2 separate regions of the Homo sapiens genome follow, and region 1 is linked to region 2. Evidence: promoter capture Hi-C in human tissues and cell types (Jung and others, 2019). All regions are on one chromosome and are shown on one strand. The core of a region is centred on a gene start or on the middle of the fragment in contact, and the rest is flanking DNA. Distances in the headings are between cores, read along the strand shown.

Region 1 (3,563 bases), core at 921-3,420, 79 kb after region 2:
ATTGCCACATTTTCTTGGCCCCTTTCATTAAAAACACTGCAATCACCTTCATGGTAAGGCTCCTCCCTGTGGAGGTCTCCTACAGAAGTAGGTGAGGACTGGTTGCTGGGATTGAAGAGAGTGGCATGGTAGCTGAGGATAATAAGGGGTACTGGGGTAAGACGGAGAGGTTTGGGGGCCACACAAGTTGTCCATCTAGGGAACGTAGAGGTCACCTAGATCAAGCCAGTGTTGCCCAAGTAGCAAAAAAAAAGAAAAAAGAAAAAAAAAGTCTGGTCTTTTTTAGCCCCGAGAGGTGTCTTTGATGAAATTCTGACCAGATGAAGCCACCATCACTGCCCTGGGCTTACACATTACCTACATACCCTAAATCAATCACTGTCTGTTTTCTGTCTTTCTCTAAGCCATAGAGCCTGCTCTCTATCTGTTAAGTCTAGGGCCATCACAAACATGCAAACAATGACACTGTAAGATAACTTGGGCCAGGTGCAGTCACTCAAGCCTGTAATCCCAGCACTTTGGGAGGCGGAGGGTAGGTAGATCACCTGAGGTCAGGAGTTCGAGACCAGCCTGGCCGACAAACATGGAGAAACCCCATCTCTACTGAAAACACAAAAATTAGCCAGGCATGGTGGCGGATGCCTGTAAGCCCAGCTACTCGGGAGGCTGAGGCAGGAGAATAGCTTGAACTCAGGAGGCAGAGGTTGCAGTGAGCCGAGATCATGCCACTGCACTCCAGCCTGGGTGACAGAGCGAGACTCCTTCTCAAAAAACAAACAAACAAACTAACAAAACAAAACAAAACAAAACAAAACAAAAAACACCACATAAGATAACTGGGGCAGAAGGCCTCTAGCCCCTAGCCCCTAGCCCCTTTCCCTACCATTCCCGCAGTAGTGGCTGCACCCCTCCAGTCCTTTCTGCTGCACCCCCAGCACCTCTGGGGCACTTTCTGAGTTAAATAATTAGTTATAGGAGTCCTCACTGGGCATAATCCATACTTGTCTTATTACAGTGTCCCAGGGGCAAGTAGGACAGGAGCCCTGCAGAGGGCTCCTGCCTCTGTTATTCTCAAATCACAACTCAAAGACACTAAACACATTCCTCAAGATCCCTTACTCCAATTCTCAAGGACCAATTCCCCACTCAACCAATCCTGCCAGGCCAGGGGCAGAGCTGGCAGGAAGAATAGAGATCCAAAAAAAAAAAAAACCGTCATAGCTTTCATGGGTTATTAGCTCCTGTTCTTTTATAGGAGCTCCTATTAGCTCCTATTCTTTTATAGGTAGAATAGTTCACCTGAAATTAATCTGATACTATCAACTTTCCTATATCATAATAGCAGAGGAATGGGCATATTTAAAGTGCAAATTAATACAGGTAGGGGTATGTGTGTGTGTATCTGTGGGCAAGTAAGATTAAAGCTTCATGGATCAGGCAACCAAACCTGAGTCAAAGTATCCATCTTCATGTCAGCTGTTTCAGGCTTAATAAACTGCAATAAAAGCAAATACCCCCACAAAGGAATGACTACTTAAAAGGCACTTTAAAAGCCCCCCTGGCCGGGTGTGGTGGCTCACACCTGTAATCCCAGCACTTTGGGAGTCCGAGGTGGGTGGATCACCTGAGGTCGCGAGTTCGAGACCAGTCAGGCCAACATGGTGAAACCCCATCTCTACTAAAAATACAAAATTATCCAGGCATGGTGGTATGTGCCTGTAATCCCAGCTACTAGGGAGGCTGAGACAGGAAAATCACTTGAACTCGGGAGGCGGAGGTTGCAGTGAGCTGAGATTGCACCATTGCACTCCAGTCTGGGCAACAAGAGTGAAACTCTGTCTCAGAAAGGAAAAAAACAAAAACAAAAAAGAACTCCCCTTTGCAAGCTGTAGTTTACTTCCTCCTTCCAGCATGCAGGGTAGATCTCTTTGGTTGAGAACATTCAAAATTACTGGACAGGAGTGGGGATGTGGTTGGGGTTGGCCATGTAAGTTACTTTCTACTTTGCTGGCTCAGAGCAGTGAGCACTGTAAGGAGTACAGAGCAGGTGCTTCAGGCATCAGGTAACTCAGCTTAGCTCTGAGTGCTGCTACCCAGGTTTCTATAGATGTCCAAGGAAGCCTCAGAATCAAGCTCCAAGAGGTTCAGATAGGAGAATAACCTGCGATCTGCATTGTTTGCAATCCCTTGGAATACAGGTTACAGCCCACTTTCCTTCTCATGCCTGCTCTTTCTTCTTTCTTAAACCTGGAGGAATGTTTGCACCATGGAAGCCCAGAGGGAAGAAAGGCTGCTATGGGTCTTGCCCCCGCAGAACTCAGCCAGCAGCCACAGTTGCTCAGTAGCAAGTGGTACCCACAGTTCAAGGCCCCAGATCCCACTGCAACACGTGGACTAGGCATGTGCTGTGAAAAGCCCAGATGGAGCCAGAAAAAAGCTGTGGCTTAGTTTACTTAAGGGAGACAGGAAAAGCCTCACATGGCAGGTAGCTAGCAGGTACTTGACAAGAGGAAATGTGCCAGGCATGCAACGGGGTGGGCTACAGTGAAGGGTGGGGTTAGCATCCATAAATGGGTCCTACTGAAGCAAGAAAGCCTGGATAATCCCAGGTTTTCTCATCTTCATCCTAACCAAGTGGTGAGGATCAAGCCCCGTTCTATTCCTGAGAATACGGCAGGATGGGCTATTTGTACCATCCCACCCCGGGGCAGAATGAAAGATGCTGAGTAACAGTAACTTTTAAAGAGCAAAAGTTTCTAATTTTGATGAAGTCCAATTGACTTTTGCTTTTATAGTTCACACTTTTGGTGTCATATGTAAAAAACCTGTGCCAAACACAAAGACACTAGGATTTTCTCCTGTTTTCTTATTTATTTATTTACTTATTATACTTTAAATTCTGAGGTACAGGTGCAGAATGTGCAGTTTTGTTACATAGGCATACATGTGCCATGGTGGTTTGCTGCACCCATCAACTCGTCACCTACATTAGGTATTTCTTTTAATGCTATCCCTCCCCTAGCTTCTCACCTGCCGACAGGCCCCAGTGTGTGATGTTCCCCTCGCTGTGTCCATGTGTTCTCCTTGTTCATCTCCCACTTATGAGTGAGAACGTGCAGTGTTTGGTTTTCTGTTCCTGTGTTAGTTTGCTGAGGATGATGGTTTCCAGCTTCATTCATGTCCCTGCAAAGGACATTAACTCGTCCTTTTTTATGGCTGCAAAGTATTCCATGGTGTATATGTGCAAGATTTTCTTTATCCAATCTATCATTGATGGACATTTAGGTTGGTTCCAAGTCTTTGTTGTTGTGAATAGTGCCGCAATAAACATACATGTGCATGTGTCTTTATGGTAGAATGATTTAAAATCCTTTGGGTATATACCCACTAATGGGATTGCTGGACAGAATGGTATTTCTAGTTCTAGATCCCTGAGGAATCGCCACACTGTCTTCCACAATGGTTGAACTAATTTACACTCCCACTGATAGTAAAAGTGTTCCTATTTCTCCACATCCTCACCAGCACCTGTTATTTCCTGACTTTAATAATCACCATTCTAA
Region 2 (3,300 bases), core at 511-3,010:
CTCAGGAGCTGGGAGGGGCTCCTTCCTGGCTCTGCAGAAGCTGCAGAGAAGTCCAGCCTGCCAGTGCTACATCTGCAGGAGCCCCTGCTCTATGTCCCTCCCTGCCTTCCTCTCCCTGTTCAAGGCTCCCATGCTCCCCAGGACATTCCACAGTGACTGTGTCCATTACATGAGGGCAGTTTGGTCTCAGGAAAGCTCCCAGCAGCGAGGCGGCCATGCTTGGCCCTTTACCATTTCTGCCTGGGCCCAGGCTCACTCCCCATGTCCTCAGCACACTCTGGGGACATGGCATCCAGGCAGGTGACATGAGAAGGAGGAACATGCAGGAGGCTGTGTGCAGCTGAGTTGAATTCTGCAGGTGAAATGGTGGCACCCACCCTGTGGCCCCAGGTGACCTTCTCAAGAGGTGACCAGCAAGGCAGCTGCCCCACCACCTGTGTCCCCAACAGAGCAGCAAGCTGACCTCACTTCATACTGTGCAGCTGACCAGAAGCCTTAACAAATAAAGGAGAAAGAAGTTACCAGGACTTCCGCAATGAGGCTTCGTTTCTGAAGGGACATCTGATCCGTGCATCTCTTCACTCCTAACTTGGCTGCAACAGCTTCCGGAGGGGCATCAAATTTGGCAAGACTTAACTTGAACAGAGGTTCACTAATGAAGAAGAAGTCTAACAGCTCAGAAACAAGAGCTGGGCAGAACTCGGCATTGGCTGCAGCAAAAGAATAAAAATATAGTTGATGTTAGGAAAGTCGATTTTTCTCTTTGGCTCCCTGACGTTAGACCAGACAGGATCCCCTGGGTTATATGTTCACATACATTTGTTGTGCTGATGACAATGCCAGACCCTTCAGGTGTGACTTCCTCAAGCTCTCACAATAAAGGAAAGCACTTCATATCAACAGCCAAACTCTTTTTTTTCCCTTTGTCACCCAGGCTGGAATTCAGTAGCTCAATCATGGCTCACTGCAGCCTCTACCTCCTGGGCTCAAGCGATATCCCCATCTCAGCCCCCTAAGTAGCTGAGACTACTGGTGCATGTCACCACGTCCAGCTGATTTTTCATATTTCTTTTGGTAAAGCTGGAGTTTCGCCACGTTGCCTAGGCCGGACTCAAACTCCTGAGCTCAAGCAATTCACTCTCCTTGACCTTCCAAAGTGCTAGGATTACAGGCATGAGCCGCCATGCTTAGCCCACAGCTAGACTCTTTTGACAGTATTAATCTTTCTTACTCCATTCTCATAGCCTCTCCTGGCAGAAGCGCTAACTACCAGTGATAGGAGGAGGCTCAGGGAGGGTGAGCATTGTGCCCAAGGTCAAAGGGCTGGGAAGTGGCGGATCCCAGATTCACCCCAGACCTCACATTACATCATCTGACACAGATCCCACCCAGGAGTGAAGCTCAGGCAGAAGAATTCCTAATATTTGCCTGCACTGATTTTCAATAAAACTTCGTAGGTGCTGGGGAGTAGAAGAAATAGCTCTGAACTTGATGAGGGGCTTGTTCAACAAGCACAGAAAAAGGTTTGGAATTTTGGTTTTGTGCAGATCCTAACCCCAGCCTGAATAGGTGACCTCGTGCTTGGAAGAGGGTGCTTCCCAGGGGCTGGAGCTAGACTCATGACTGATGTACTCACCCTGGTAGCAGCAGAGGGCCAGCGTGACCAGCAGGAGACACACCGACAGCTTCATGGTGGCTTGTTTTGCTGTGAGCTCAGCTTTCACAAACAATGAGTGATTTGGACTCCACCCCAGGAGCCTGTGGAGCTGCAGAGCCCAGGGCTATTTGTACCTAGGGAGTCTAGCTGGTACTGGTCATGAGGCCTGGCTCCCAGCCCACCTCTCCTTCCCAGGGCTGTTGCCATCCATCTGTGTCACCTCCCCACGCCTCCCTGCACTCTGACTGGGGCAGAGCACAGGAGGGTAGCCCTGCAGGAACTCTGCTCTGTGTTCCAGGTGAATGTTCAGGCACCTCTGGAAATATTCCTGGGATTCTGTTTCCTTCTGAGTTTTGCTGATTATTTTTTTTCTTTGTATCAGTTCAAGGGCACAGGTAAATTCTGACTTTGGAAGGCACAGGAAGCTGGAAGGCTGTGTTCTGGTTATGGGGGAGCAGGGACATAAGGAAACCCTGCTTTGATCCCCCTGCATGTCTGACAACCAGTAGGCTTGTTTCAGTTGCACATTGAGCAAGTCTAAACAAGACCTATTCCCCTCAGCCCCTCCCATCACCACCATGTTCACTGCATAGGTACCTAAAACCTAGTTCAATGCATCTTACCTTTGGAGGATTTCCTGGGGAAAAGCAACTGCTGCACCTGTTCTCTAGCCTGTCTCACTCCCAAACCTGAGTCTTGTTTATGAGTGCAGCTATAAATATGGCCAAGACTCACATTTTCTCTCTACGAGGAGCAAGCTTTCTGTGATGTGTAGCCACCCACATGTTGATGGGTTGACCTGATGATTACATAGCCTAACTTTTTCCAAGTAGCTTTTGGAGTGTCCAGAGCCAATCATGCATCGGACAGGTACTGAGAGTTCTTTGCTCTGGGGCTCCAGGAGGGGAAGAAGATGGAAAAGAAGAGACAGATGATCAGGGTGAGTGGTCACTTCCCCCCAACCTCTAGGCTCAAGTTTTCCACTTCAAATCTAGCTGTGCAGCCTGAGCCAATCCCATTTTTAATAGAAAGGGAAGGAAGCACCCAGACAAAGCAATACACACCCTCCTGCCCTCCTGCTGTGATGCCTTTGTGTGGTGTGAGCAGGAAATCAATCACTAGAAATTTCTCTCTCTTTTTTGTTATTATACTTTAAGTTTTAGGGTACGTGTGCACAACGTGCAGGTTAGCTACATATGTATACATGTGCCATGTTGGTGTGCTGCACCAATTAACTCATCATTTAACATTAGGTATATCTCCTAATGCTATCCCTCCCCCCTCCCCCCACCCCACAACAGTCCCTGGTGTGTGCTGTTCCCCTTCCTGTGTCCATGTGTTCTCATTGTTCAATTCCCACCTATGAGTGAGAACACGCGGTGTTTGTTTTTTTGTCCTTGCGATAGTTTGCTGAGAATGATGGTTTCCAGCTTCATCCATGTCCCTACAAAGGACATGAACTCATCATTTTTTATGGCTGCATAGTATTCCGTGGTGTATATGTGCCACATTTTTTTAATCCAGTCTATCATTGTTGGACATTTGGGTTGGTTCCAAGACTTTGCTATTGTGAATAGTGCTGCAATAAACATACGTGTGCATGCGTCTTTATAGCAGCATGATTTATAATCCTTTGGGTATAT

The links. The method cuts DNA at HindIII sites, captures the fragments that hold promoters and counts their contacts. A contact is called where the count stands out against the background at its distance.
Region 1: a fragment that was not itself captured here is called in contact with the fragment with the promoter of SCGB1D2 in region 2 in 2 of the 25 tissues and cell types used here (dorsolateral prefrontal cortex and pancreas).

Annotation. Positions count from the first base shown.
Region 1 is chr11:62,162,236-62,165,798 of GRCh38, reverse strand. No RefSeq gene overlaps it. Among named protein-coding and RNA genes, the nearest start is that of SCGB1D1, 26 kb to the left of the region's middle. The HindIII fragment of the contact is 4,748 bases long and covers 1-3,563 here.
Region 2 is chr11:62,240,699-62,243,998 of GRCh38, reverse strand. SCGB1D2 (secretoglobin family 1D member 2) reads right to left here and starts at 1,760. Exons shown (of 3, transcript NM_006551.4): 1 at 1,637-1,760; 2 at 523-710. The coding sequence starts at 1,691. The HindIII fragment of the contact is 7,638 bases long and covers 1-3,300 here.